Linked DNA regions of Homo sapiens: all the other regions are linked to region 5. Evidence: promoter capture Hi-C in human tissues and cell types (Jung and others, 2019). All regions are on one chromosome and are shown on one strand. Each heading gives the region's core, a stretch centred on a gene start or on the middle of the fragment in contact. The rest is flanking DNA. Distances are from core to core; before and after follow the strand shown. Region 1 has its middle 59 kb from the start of SNORA75B. Region 2 has its middle 37 kb from the start of SNORA75B. Region 3 has its middle 57 kb from the start of SNORA75B. Region 4 overlaps LDB2 (LIM domain binding 2). Region 5 holds the start of LDB2 (LIM domain binding 2).

Region 1 (2,734 bases), core at 38-2,537, 360 kb before region 5:
ATGAAATTATTTTCTTTGCAGCAACATGGATGCAGCTAGAGGCCATTATTCTAAATAAATTAATGCAGGAACAGAAAACCAAATGCCACATGTTCTCACTTATAAGTGAGAGCTAAATAATGTGTATACATGGACATAAAGTGTGGAATAATAGACATTAGAGACTCAGAAGTGTAGAAGGGTGGGATAGGTGAAGGATGAGAAATTTAATGGGCACAGTGTACATGATTCAGGTGATGGTTACACTGAAAGTCCAGATTTCACCATTATGCAATATATTCACATAACAAAATTGCACCTGTACCCCTTAAATTTATACAAATAATAAAATAAGTAGACCAACTTGGATTAAAATTGAGACAGGAATACGAAGGTCTTAGAGGCATCTCTCTGGGACCCCCAGAACCCTGTTTAAAGACCCTTCCAGTAATATATTCATATTCTGCATTGAACACTATTATACAGCCCAAGGTGATAACACTGTCAGAAAGGAACTTGATGGGTACTACTATTAAATAGTTCAAAATGTTCATTTGTCAGCTCATAGAAGAAAGTCTTTCCTGGGTATACGAAAGTCACTTTATGGTGTTGGTATGTGATGTGTGAAAAGGCAGGTTGTCTGAAAGTAGAAACTTTAGAAGTGGGCTGGCACGATGGCTCATGCCTGTAATCCCAGCACTTTGGGAGGCTGAACAGATGGATCACTTGAAGTGATCAGGAGTTTGAGACCAGCCTGGCCAACATGGTAAAACCCCACATCTACTAAAAATAAAAAATAATTAGGCATGGTGGCATGCACCTGTAATTCAGCTTCTCTAGGGAGGCTGAGGTGTGAGAATCACTTGAACTTGGGAGGCAGAGGTTGCAGTGAGCCGAGATTGCACCACGCATTCCAGCCTGGGTGATGGAGCAAGACTCCATATCAAAAAAAAAAAAAAAAAAGGAGAAACTTTGGAAGTGGATGACTGTCTGCATTTCACTGGTCCAGAACCACCTGTCTGAGTGCAGCCATCAGACAGCTCTGTCTTCTTTCTTCTCCAATCTGTTGCAGTGAACTCTGGTCCTTCCACTCACCTTTTCTTGGCTCTGAGACTGCATTCTCCTGTCCTGTCCTTTTTGGTCATCTCAGCTGCTTCTTAGGTACGGAATGAAGTGATTGATTTTTGAAGAATTTCAAGTTCTTGGCCACTCAACATGTGACCATGCACTAATTATTATGTTGAAATTGCTGTGATGTCAGGTGTTTTCCCCAAGGCTTTACTCTGCTCATTTGTAAAATTAGTTCTTCGATCACATTCTTGAGCTTTTTATTACACACACATTTGCTGAATGCCTGACACAGGTAAAGCACTGTGGAAACATGTGGGGCTTCCACTCCTCTTTCAAAAGCCTATCAAATGGCACCTCCTCCATGAATTTTCCTGCCTTTGTCGTGGAAAATTAGGGCTCCTGGTCCTGGGCTGGGGCTTGTACATGACTATAGGCCATTGTTGATTACAAGCTATACTGTAGCTGTTTACAGGACTGTCTCTTCCACTAGTGTATGAGCTTTTGAAACATAGGGGTGCTATGGACTGAATTTTTGTGTCTCCCCCAAATTCATATGTTGAAATCCCAACACCGAATGCAATGGTACCAGGAGGTGGGGCCTTTGGGAAATAATTAGGTCACAAGAGTGGAGACTTCGTGAATGGGATTAGTGCCCTTAGAAGAAAAACAGGAGAGGTTAATGATTCTCTCTGCTTTGTTCTCTATCATGTGAGGATACACTGAGAAGACGGCTGTCTGAACACTAGAGAGAGTCCTCACCTGAACCTGACCATGTAGGCATCCTGACCTCAATTTCTGGCCTCCAGAACTGTGAGAAATAAATGTCTGTTGTTTAAGCCACCCAGGGTATGATAGTCTGTTGTAGCAGCCTGCGCCAAGACAAGGGGCTTGCTTTAATCATTTTTGTTTGACTTAAGGTAATATGATTTGCACATAGCAGACCATCTACATGTGGAAGAAAGGAAGTAAAGAAAGAAGGGAGGGAGGGAGAAAGGAAAGAAACCGTGTGTGGTGGACACACTCTAAGGTTGCCCCCAATGAGTCATACCTCCCCTTGAGTGTGGTTGGAGCCTGTGACTAGCTTCTAGACCATAGAATATGACAAAGGAGATATGACAGTCACTCCCATTGTTGTGCTACATTACACTGGACTCTGCCCTAGCAGACAGGAGTGAGAGATAAACCTGCTGGCTTTGAAGAAGTGATCTGCCAATTTGTAGGAGGGCCTATGGACGGGGCCACATGGCAAGGAACTGAGGGTGGCTTTAGAACTAAGAGTGATCGCTGGCTGACAGCAAACAAAAAAACATGGGCCTCAGCCATGCATCTGCAAGGAAATGAATTCTGCCAACAACCATGAGTGGGCTTGGAAGTGAATTCTTCTCAGTCAAGCCTCCAGATAGGAAATTGGCTCAGATGACCCCTTGATTACAGTCTTGGGAGACCCTGAGTAGGACCATGCTGAGTCAGGCCTGGACTCCTGATCCCTGGAAACTGAGATGATGAGTGGATGATGTTTTAAGCTCTATGTTCATAGTAATTTTTTCTGTGGCTGCAGAATAAGATACTGAAGTCCAGAGTGGGAGGCAGAGAAGCCTCTTAATCTGTGAGCTGCCATCTAACATGAGCAGTCAACATTCCCCAAAGGGAGCAAGAGAGAGCCTTGCCATCATCATTCCTTGCC
Region 2 (2,700 bases), core at 180-2,679, 380 kb before region 5:
GTGCACTGGGAGACTGAAAAACTCCCTCAAAAGTCACCCTCCGTTCTGGTCCCCTGGCAGCACCAGGGAGAGAACCCCCCTCACCACTTGCCTGAGATTCTCTCTTCCTTCATCTCTGGGCTTCCTTCATACATACAGACTAGGGTATTGGAGGTGGGCTGTGGGTCACAGGACTTCCTGAATGGGTAGTCTACACCTTTCCATATTTAGTTACAGTTTGCTGGAGGAGGAATGAGAGGGTTTTATTTATCATCTATTGTTCTCAGCTTTGGGCTTCAGCCAAAATTCTAAGACAACACCAGAAATTCCATTTAAGATCTTATTCTATGTGACGATTTGTTATTTTTTCTCAGGAGCTCAGCTGAGCTGGAGAGAGGGCTGAGCTATCAGGTGTAGGAGTAGCTGATGAAGCATCAGGGGGTTGACATGGAAGTACCAGCACAGCCTTTATTCACTAACTGCTATGGTACAAGCAAGGGGCTAAACCCACGCAGTAAGATTTCCCCTGCTGCCCATGGCACAGTGCACAGGCTGAGGTCAGGTGGGTCAGAGCAGGTGTGGGGTAGAGGGAGCAGTTTATGGACTCTGGGGTTGGGGAGGATCAGGGCTGAGAGCCAGGAGTGGAAAAGTACTGAGTACTGAGTCGGAGTGGGAAAAATGGTCTTCCAGGTTTTTCCGTTCTTTTCACCATAAGTAGGACTTGGCAGAGATGTCTGCAGAGGACCTCTGCCCAAGGTCTTGGACAAAGAAACCCAGGAATGAAGGCTCTGGGCCTAGGGTTACAAATATGTGAAGAGCAGGACCAGCTAGAGGGGCCTGAGTCCTTTCCAATTCCCTTCAGAGCCTGCCATGCAGTGGCTGTGAGCCAAGTCTGCTGTGGGAAGGGCAGATGTTGCCCATGGAGCCAGCCAGGTGAAGCCTTTGTACTTGCCTATGGTCGGGCCTGAAAAATCACACGTAGGTTTTTTAAACCAGGAGCTGGACTCTTCATTTTATTTATGTATTTATTGTTTCTTTTTTTCTCGAATGAGATCCTTATGAAGATAAGGACCTTCTCATTGGTCCCCTGTTGATTTCCCTCATGCGAAGCACAGCGCTTGGCACATAGTAGGTATTTGATAAGGATGTGTCGAGTAAATGGAGGAATTCCAGGCCAGTGCGGTACAGAGGGAAGACCCTGTTGTGGCCTTCAAGGGGGTCCTTGACGGATGAGGCCTAAATGACAATATTTGACAGAACAGTACATGTTTAACCAGCATTTATTATTATTAGAGGAAAGAAAGATTGTTATGATCAAGGGGGCAGGAGAGGCTTCAGGGAGGGGCATGGTTTGAGGTAGTGGGTCTGTTATGGATGGGATCTGAAGAGGTGGAACTCAGAAAACACCATTTGGCTCATAAACTTGACGTCAGGCTCACCCACACTTCCTAGAGCCATCTGTCTCGATATCTGCCACTTTCCCAGCGGAACACTTAGAGCATGCAAATATCTGCCCAAGTGCTCGCAGCTCCACACCAGCATCAAACCGGGAGGCAAAAGGAGAGGGTGGTATTTCGGGGACCCAAATCCTTCATCTCATTTAGTCCACAACTTTTTGGGTGTGGACATTTCATTCCCTTGTATTTTTTTTTTCTCCTCCGAATCATTTTTACTCTCTTTCATCTTCTGTCACTACTTCCTGCTTCTACTGAATTTTAAGCTTCTGTTTATTGAATGGGGATGAGAGTATTTTCAGGTTTGTTCGAATGCACAAAGGAAGAAGGGGCTTTGTAAATGCATGGCAATCCTCGCTGTATTCTAGGAATCTTTGATCCTCAAAACTTGTGAGCCTTAGTCCTCCCATCCTTGACCGTGGGGGACTAGTGCTCATTGTTTCTTAAGCACTTAGCCATTTAAAGACAAAAAGTAAAACCACAAAATCATAGAATCTCAGCTTAGAGAAGAACCTTCAAATTCCCCTGTATGTAAAAGGCAATATTTTTCTTTTGGGTGGATGAATTTGTAGGAACATTCCCTGGTAGGTCTTTTAGGTGAAGAAGACAAGCCCCTATCTTCCCCTTCCTTGCTCCACCCTGGGTGTACATTGGATGGCAAAGTTGAGGTCAATAAGTGTCTGGAATGTACTTGTGCAGCAAAATAAGGTCAAAGTTTGAATATCTATGGCAGGCAAGACAAAATGTTGTCAGAACCCAGGAGTCAAGGGTAGGAAGAGATGAAAGAACACAAGGAAATTTGCATGCTGCTAGACAAGAGGAGAAATAACAAAGCCAATCGGGCACTCTCTGTGGCAGGGAGTGGAGAATATATTTCTAGGGATTTGATATCTGATTTTTAGTTTGAAGCTGTTCTCTGCTTTATGCTCTAAATACCTTCTGCTGTCTGCAAAACTTTAGTAGAAATCTGCAGCACACGATTGTCTTGTGTTGGTGGTACTCTGGGGAATAAATGCAGAGGGGTGTTGTGCATGGGGAAGTGACCGGGAGAGGGCACGAGCCTCAGGAGCCAGAGGGTCCACCGGGCAGCAGTGATGAAGCAGGCATTAGGGTGTACTGACTCAGGTGGACAAGAATGAAGAAAGCCTGTGTAGTACTTCCTGCACCAGAGAGAGGCGACGCTTGAAGGACAGTGGGCAGGAACATGATTTAGAGTTCCCTTTATCTTTTTTTTTTTTTTTTTTTTTGAGATGGAGTTTTGCTCTTG
Region 3 (2,796 bases), core at 91-2,590, 480 kb before region 5:
TGGTAGGTTTTACATTTTGTCAACGTAAAAATTTCTTGCATCTCATTTAATGTTCCACTCCTTTGAATTTTATTTCATTTGAAATTAATATTGAGTCACTGTTTTCTTTGAGGAGGACAGATTGGGGAATAGTAGCTAACATTTGTCTGATTTATCTTCCACTGTCACCTTATTTAAATTTCTTATTTTAATGTGATTCCTATGAACATCATGCAGACAGTTTTTATTTGTTTGATTTGGTTTGGTTTTCATGACCAATCTGGGAGTTTCTGTGTGGAAAATATAACCCAGATGTATTTGTCATGATTAATGGTATGTTTGGACTTATTCTTGCCATCTTATTTATTTCATGTTTTATTTGTGTTTTTCTATTTTGATCTTTGTTGAATTTATTAGGCTTTTTTGTTACATTTTTTTCCCTCTAGTAGTTTGAAACACTTGCATACTATTTATGGTCTTGTAGTGCTTTCTTTTAAATTATTGATGTACATTTAAACACATTTAATAATCAACATCTAGAATTATTTCCATGGTGCTTAATCTGGTGCCTTATTCAATTATGCAAATTTCTTCCCATAGGACTGTGGTTCCCAGTCTCTTTCATTTTATGAGCAGTAATATTTCCAAAAAATAAATTGTGGATCTATATAAGATTGTCAATTTTAATTTTGTCAAAAAACAATGTATAAAAATAACTCTGTATGACATCTGTCATATGCCATTGCCACCATTTCATAACAGATACTGTATTTTATTTTTAAAACAAGTTTTAAATTTTTAATTTTTGTGGGTACATAGTAGGTGTACAGATAGGAAATTTTATTGCTAACAAATTACAGAGGATGTGGTCTCATAATAAAAGGTCATTTGAAACAATTATATAAATATCTTACGTATTTAGCTTTGTGGAAAATGCCATGCTGGTTTTTCTCATTTCACTGTGGATTTATGAAAATTCCATCATGGCCTGATACTGAATTGAGGCCAGGCTTTTGGGCATTATTGGTTTGCAACCAATGTTTTTTAGCTTCATTCCCTGCTCCTCCACTTCCTACTGTTTCTTGACTATTTTAAACCCTCTTCCTTCCTTTCTTCCTTTCTGTTTTCCTTTCCTTTCTCCTTCCCTCCTTCTTTCTTTCTTTCTTGCTTCTATGTGTTTATGAATGATACTTAGCTTTTTCTGAAATGCCTTTCCCCTGCACTCATGGACAGAGATTACAGTTTATGTGAAGGATAGATTTTTAAAGAATTTACATAATTCAAAGCTAACATAATTGAAGATGAATTTTCTCACAGACCCAATAAAAGTATTTCTGATGGTGGGTTTCTGTTTACCGGCTCAAGTGGTAGTAACATGAACACTGCTTACAATTCACTTTGCATAACAGCACTGAAAATAATAGTTGCTGATGAACTAAACAATGTTTTGGAAATTGCCTAATTTTGAATTTTGTGCATAGATGGGGACTTCATTAATATTTTTATACCATATACTTTCACATTAATTCAATGTTGCATAATATGTAATTGCCCTTCATTATACTACCTCCTCTGATTTCTCATTAGTGCTTGATTATATTTGTCATAATAATTGCAATAGTTGCAGCAGAAACCTTCACTCATTTTCTCTAAGAATGGAGTTGCTGTTCTAATTGGGTAGAGCCTAAGTGCTCAATTGGGCAAAGTTAATGTCTGACTGGTAAGAGTATAGTGCCTGAAAGGAAGGGGGACTGTGTCCACTCTCCGAGGGCAGCTCTGATTGATCCATTGTCTACCATGAGGCCGCTGATATGGTTTGGCTGTGTCCCCACTCAAATCTCACCTTGAATTGTAATAATCCTCACATGTCAAGGGTGGGGCCATGGGAGATAGCTGAATCATGGGGACAGTTTCACCCATACTGTTCTCATGAATAAGTCTTATGAGATCTGACGGTTATATAAATGGGAGTTCCCTGGCACAAGCTCTCTTGCCTGCTGCCATGTAAGATGTCCCTTTGCTTTTCCTTCATTTTCTACCATGATTGTAAGGCCTCCCTAGCCATATGGAACTGTGAGTCCATTAAACCTCTTTCCTTTATAAATTACCCAGTCTTGTGTACGTCTTTATTAGCAGTGTGAGAACATAATACAGTCACCCTTGGCCAGGACTCATTGGCAGCAGCATCCCATGGTGGAATTGCTCTCTTTGTGCATCTGGCTTCCAGGTGGCAAGAGTACCTAGGCAGGCCTGCCTCTTTTTTGATTCTGCTTTGGTTCCCACACCAAAGTGTCTAACTTAGACGCTAACTTAGATGCTAACTTAGACGCTTAGCATCTAACTTAGACGCTAAGTTAGAGGGATGCTATGCCCCACAGATCCTGCTATACGAGGTTCAGGGCAACTGACTTCTTTAGACTTTGGGTCTTTCCATATATTAAATCCAGCATTTACTTGAGCATGTGGTATGTGTTTCCAGGTGCTTTTTCTTCTCTTTGTAATTTGGCCCTTGGCTTCCTCTTTGCAGCTTGTGTGGACAGCTTCCTCTGTAGGGAAGGGAGGGAGGAGTGAGTGCCAAATTGCTGAAACCTCTCTCTAACAAGCATATCCCAGGTTTGGTGGTTGGTTGGGAAGCGTGGAGTTGTCCTTGTCTCATTTTTCCAGGTGAAGCTGACGAAGCCCAGGGTTTCTGCTTTGTTTATCTTTTAAGATCCAGTCCTGGCAGCTCCTGATGTTCAACATTTCTGCTTTATTAAATAAAACTCCTTCCCTGTTAAATCATTGCCTGTGAATAGACAAGTCTCCCTTCTGGCTGAA
Region 4 (2,700 bases), core at 98-2,597, 270 kb after region 5:
TATTTAGGATAGTTAGCTCTTTTTGTTGAATTGATCCCTTTACCATTATGTAATGGCCTTCTTTGTCTCTTTTGATCTTTGTTGGTTTAAAGTCTGTTTTATCAGAGACCAGGATTGCAATCCCTGCTTTTTTCGGCTTTCCATTTGCTTGGTAGATCTTCCTCCATCCCTTTACTTTGAGCCTATGTGCATCTTTGAATGTGAGATGGATCTCCTGATACAGCACACCGATGGGTCTCGACTCTTTATCCAATTTGCCAGTCTGTGTCTTTTAATTGGGGCATTTAGCGCATTTACATTTAAGGTTAATATTGTTATGTGTGAATTTTATCCTATCCTTATGATGCTAGCTGGTGTTTTCACCTATTAATTTATGCCGTTTCTTTATACGGCGTTGATGGTCTTTACAATTTGGCATGTTTTGCAGTGGCTGGTACCAGTTGTTTCTTTCCATGTTTAGTGCTTTCTTCAGGAGCTCTTATAAGGTAGGCCTGCTGGTGACAAAATCTCTCAGCATTTGCTTGTCTGTAAAGGATTTTATTTCTCTTTCACTTATGAAGCTTAGTTTGGCTGGATATGAAATTCTGGGTTGAAAATTCTTTTCTTTGAGAATGTTGAATATTGGCCCCCACTCTCTTCTGGCTTGTAGGGTTTCTGCAGAGACATCACTGTTAGTCTGTTGGGCTTCTCTTTATGGGTAACTCGACCTTTATCTCTGGCTGCCTTTAACATTTTTTCCTTCATTTCCACCTTGGTGAATCTGACAGTTATGTGTTTTGGGGTTTCTCTTCTCAGGGAGTATCTTTGTGGTGTTCTCTGTATTTCCTGAAATTGAATGTTGGCCTGCCTTGCTAGGTTGGAGAAGTTCTCCTGGATAATATCCTGCAGAGTGTTTTCCAAGTTGGTTCCATTCTCCCTGTCACTTTCAGGTACACCAATCAAATGTAGATTTGGTCTTTTCACATAGTCCCATATTTCTTGGAGGTTTTGTTTGTTTCTTTTCACTCCTTTTTCTCTAATCTTGTCTTCTCACTCAATTTCATTAATTTGATCTTCAATCACTGATATCCTTTCTTCCGCTTGATTGAATCGGCTATTGAAGCTTGTGTATGCTTCACGAAGTTGTTGTTCTGTGGTTTTCAGCTCCACCAGGTCATTGAAGCTCTTCTGTACACTGGTTATTCTAGTTAGCTATTCTTCTAACCTTTTTTCAAGGTTTTTAGCTCCCTTGCAGTGGATTAGAACATGCTCCTTCAGCTTGGAGAAATTTGTTATTACCAATCTTCTGAAGCCTACTTCTGTTTTTGTTGATGTTGATGCTATTCCTTTCTCTTTGTTAGTTTTCCTTCTAACAGACAGGCCCCTCAGCTGCAGGTCTGCTGGAGTTTGCTGGAGGTCCACTCCAGGCCCTGTTTGCGTGGGTATCACCAGCAGAGGGTGCAGAACAGCAAATATTGTTGTCTGATCCTTCCTCTGGAAGCTTCATCCCAGAGAGGTACCCATCTGTATTAGGTGTCTGTTGGCCCCTACTGGGAGGTGTCTCCCAATTAGGCTACACGGGGGTCAGGGACCCACTTGAGGAGGCAGTCTGTCCATTTTTGGAGCTTGAACTCCATGCTGGGAGAAACACTGCTCTCTTCATAGCTGTCAGGCAGGGACGTTTAAGTCTGAAGAAGCTGTCTGCTGCCTTTTGTTCTGATATGCCCTGCCCCCAGAGGTGGAATCTAGAGAGGCAGTAGGCCTTGCTGATCTGTGGTGGGCTCTACCCAGTTTGAGCTTCCCTGCCACTTTGTTTACACTGTGAGCATAGAACCACCTACTCAAGCCTCAGCAATGGCGGATGCCCCTCCCCCAACCAAGCTTCAGCATCCCAGGTCCATCACGGACTGCTGCACTAGCAGCAAGCAAAGCTCCATGGGCATGGGACCCACTGAGCCAGGCACAGGGTGGGGGATCTCCTGGTCTACCGGTTGTGAGACCATGGGAAAAGTGCAGTATTTGGGCAGAAGTGTACTGCTTCTCCAGGTACAGTCACTCACGGCTTCCCTTGGATAGGAAAGGGAGATCCCCTGACCCCTTGCACTTCCTGGGTGAGGTGACACCCCACCCTTCTTCGGCTCACCCTCCATGGGCTGCACCCACTGTCCAACCAGTCCCAGTGAGATGAACCAGGTACCTCAGTTGGAAATGCAGAAATCACCCATCTTCTGCGTCTATCTCGCTGGGAGCTGTAGACCAGAGCTGTTGCTATTTGGCCATCTTGGAAGTGACCCCGGGTGACTCAAATTTAAGAGAGGCTTTCTCGAATGGTACAGGACAAAAAAAAAAAAGATTTAACTCACCAGAGGACGGGTAGTGTTTTGTCAGGCAAAAAAAGTTGAGAAGGGTCTTTCCCAAAAGTTACCTTTCTCATCCCCAAATCATAGGAAGATGGATCTGATGCAAATACACTATCAATTTGGAAAATCAGTACCTTCAGTCCAGGGCCCTCTGTAGGAGCTGAATAGATGGTGAGCTTCTCCTGGAGAAGTTCTAAGTCAAATGGCAACATCTTGGGTTTTGGGAATCCATCCTGTTGGGAGCTTTTGGGGCATGAGATGAAAGAATGCTATTTTTCAAGGCCTTCCTGGAATTCACGTAATCCTTGCAAAACAACATTCTGATGAATTGAGTCAGAGTAATGCAACCCGTATATTTCTG
Region 5 (2,719 bases), core at 33-2,532:
TTGCTTTATTTCCTTAATACCACTGACCTACCTAGGTGTTAGCTCAATACATTTAAATTTTGTGTGGCTGGGCTTTGTTTAAGTGTCGTATCTCTGGTTATAGTGGGTTCTAGCAGAATTTGATTATTTTATAGATTGTTTAATTCTCTATAGAGATTTTCCCCTTCCATGGGCTGTTGGGATTTCTTATGGTTATCATATACCACAGTTGGGAAAATATTTGTTTACTTGACCAATCTTGGAAAATACAGACTTTGTCTCCATAAGAGTTGGACATGTTATCTGGGGATGATCCATTCAATTATTTGCAATTTCCTTCTCAACCAAATTTTCCGTGGTCATTTTTGTGGCAGTTTTCTCCTTCTTTGCTTTTCCTGTCTTATTGGGAGGTCTGTTTGGGTTTTTTGTTTGTTTGTTTGTTTGTTTTTCCTTCCTGGGAAAAAAGACCATTGCTCTCCTTAAGTGTATTTTATACCTTCCACATTCAGAACGACTGTTTTTACCTGAAAATGCCCAGGCACCTTAAGGGCCTGAATGAAGTCTTTGGAGAAGAGGGAGGTGGCTGGGAAGAGGGGTGAGTGGGGAGAGATGGGAGTGAGATGGAGTGGAGGGCAAAGAATATAACAGCCCTTGGAACAACAGCAAGTAAAGCAAAACTACATAGGGAGATTAGTGCTGAAATAAATCTCTGCATGTGAGTGAATCACCGGTCCCAATTCGGGGCACCACAGTGCCCGTGTTTCTGTATTTTGTAGTAATCAACATTTCTGATACATTACAACAGTGTGGTTGTCAGGGGTGAGCGGCTCATGTAGCGGTTAGACCACCTCTATGCTAACAAGCTTAGCAATCAGGTTGTGAAGGGTCCTGGCTGGAGGAAAAAAATTAAAACCAAACCTTAGACCTCTTGTCAGACTGTGAGGAGAATTATATTTGTGAACTAGTCTACAATGTGGACAGGAAATGACCTCTCCACAAACTGCTTCTTTAAAAACAAGCAGTGGTGCCTAAAGCTATCCAGCTCCTCTCTCTCTCTCTCTCTCTCTCTCTCTCTCTCTCTCTCTCTCTCTCTCTCTCTCTCTCTCTCTCCCCCTCCCTCCCTCCCTCCTCCCTCCCTCCCTCCCTCCCTTCTTCCCTCCCTTCCTCCATACCAACCTCCCTCCCTCTCTGGAGCTCCTGCTCTCTCCCTCTCCCTCCTCTCCCGTGCTCCCTCCCTCCCTCCCTCTTTCCCTCCCTCCTCTCCTCTCCCTCTCCTCTCCTGCTATAGAGGGCTCCGACAGCAGTTCCCAGCCAGCGTGTTCAGCCTGCCTGCCTGCCTGCCTCTGTGTGTGTGTGAGCGTGTGTGCGTGCGTCTACTTTGTACTGGGAAGAACACAGCCCATGTGCTCTGCATGGACGTTACTGATACTCTGTTTAGCTTGATTTTCGAAAAGCAGGCAAGATGTCCAGCACACCACATGACCCCTTCTATTCTTCTCCTTTCGGCCCATTTTATAGGAGGCATACACCATACATGGTACAGCCAGAGTACCGAATCTATGAGATGAACAAGAGACTGCAGTCTCGCACAGAGGTAAGTACTTCAACCTTGGGGATGTGTTTGTGTATTTTTGTTAAGCTATGCATGAGCTTTTCCTAGGGTTTCTGGCTGAATTCTATGGGAAGTGTCCCACTTGATACTACCACGTACGTGGAAATGAGCGCCAGGATGAATCCACGAGTTTGGACGCTGGGTTTCCAGGCACAGCAACTCTTGTAGCAGAGGACAGTTTCTGCCGGAATCTTGAGACAACCCAGCACTTGATTCACATGCCGGGTTTCCAGAAATGTTGCTCTTCCAGAACTCTGGTGTTTTACAGGCTCTGAGTCAGTCCTGTTGGTGTTTCTTGAGATATAATTCCAAGGAATTTTGTGATTGTTTGCATCTGGCTATATATATATATACATATGTGTATATATATATATATATATATATATATACATATGTGTATATATATATATATATATATATATATATATATATATATATATTTTCTTTTTTACAAATCCTAGAGGAAGTCTGCTTTGACCTGTATTTACTTTTCAGAGTCACCAAAATCGAGGTAAAAAGGGGCAGAAGAGTAAACCTGCCTACTTCTCAGAACTAGCCCTGGAGGGACACATGTTTGTATATTTCAGTGTTAAAATCAGAAACCAGTTGCTTGGGGCAAGGGGACTCTAGACTTTCTCCTATTGCTGTCGGCCGTGCCCCCCTATCACTCTACCTTAGGACAGGAGCTGGTTCAGCTTTCAAGTCAGCTCTAGTTTTTGCATATTTGAGATCTTGTGCCTGAGAGAGGGAGACTCAGCCTCCTAGGCAGCCAGCAACTCTGGGAGCAGAGAGAACAGGACTTTCAGAACTTTTTAAATGCAAAACTCCAGACTCGCCTCCTGCAATTTAAATATTTTATGTCAGTTGACTTTTTCTCTGTGCTAGCTCAGCTGGCAGGTCTTGCTGCTGGATTGTCCATCTGCCTGTAAGTTGGGGCTTTGTGTGGAAGTGTTCGGAAAAGGAGTTTGTTATAGGTGCACCAAAGTCACTTTAGGAAGTGGAAATTGCTAGGAATTTAGTCTTCTCTGCAGAGTATAAATACCACAAGATTTATGCCAAAGAGCTTTTAGGGAATAGCTCTGGTGGAATTTTAGATTGAAGATTGACTTTTAACTCTAGGAAGGGACT

Evidence for each region. Contacts are between HindIII fragments. The study calls those that stand out against the background at their distance.
Region 1: a contact is called between a fragment that was not itself captured here and the fragment with the promoter of LDB2 in region 5, in 1 of the 25 tissues and cell types used here (lymphoblastoid cells).
Region 2: a fragment that was not itself captured here is called in contact with the fragment with the promoter of LDB2 in region 5 in 2 of the 25 tissues and cell types used here (H1 embryonic stem cells and lymphoblastoid cells).
Region 3: a fragment that was not itself captured here is called in contact with the fragment with the promoter of LDB2 in region 5 in 1 of the 25 tissues and cell types used here (heart left ventricle).
Region 4: a fragment that was not itself captured here is called in contact with the fragment with the promoter of LDB2 in region 5 in 1 of the 25 tissues and cell types used here (dorsolateral prefrontal cortex).

What each region holds. Positions count from the first base shown.
Region 1 is chr4:17,260,090-17,262,823 of GRCh38, reverse strand. No RefSeq gene overlaps it. Among named protein-coding and RNA genes, the nearest start is that of SNORA75B, 59 kb to the left of the region's middle. The HindIII fragment of the contact is 4,251 bases long and covers 1-2,734 here.
Region 2 is chr4:17,282,205-17,284,904 of GRCh38, reverse strand. No RefSeq gene overlaps it. Among named protein-coding and RNA genes, the nearest start is that of SNORA75B, 37 kb to the left of the region's middle. RefSeq lists an enhancer at 1-392. The HindIII fragment of the contact is 5,072 bases long and covers 1-2,700 here.
Region 3 is chr4:17,376,701-17,379,496 of GRCh38, reverse strand. No RefSeq gene overlaps it. Among named protein-coding and RNA genes, the nearest start is that of SNORA75B, 57 kb to the right of the region's middle. The HindIII fragment of the contact is 5,246 bases long and covers 1-2,796 here.
Region 4 is chr4:16,628,200-16,630,899 of GRCh38, reverse strand. The region is part of intron 2 of LDB2 (LIM domain binding 2); the gene reads left to right. Among named protein-coding and RNA genes, the nearest start is that of LDB2, 270 kb to the left of the region's middle. The HindIII fragment of the contact is 3,457 bases long and covers 1-2,700 here.
Region 5 is chr4:16,897,208-16,899,926 of GRCh38, reverse strand. It overlaps LDB2 (LIM domain binding 2), which reads left to right and starts at 1,282. Exons shown (of 8, transcript NM_001290.5): 1 at 1,282-1,573. The coding sequence starts at 1,442. The HindIII fragment of the contact is 10,471 bases long and covers 1-2,719 here.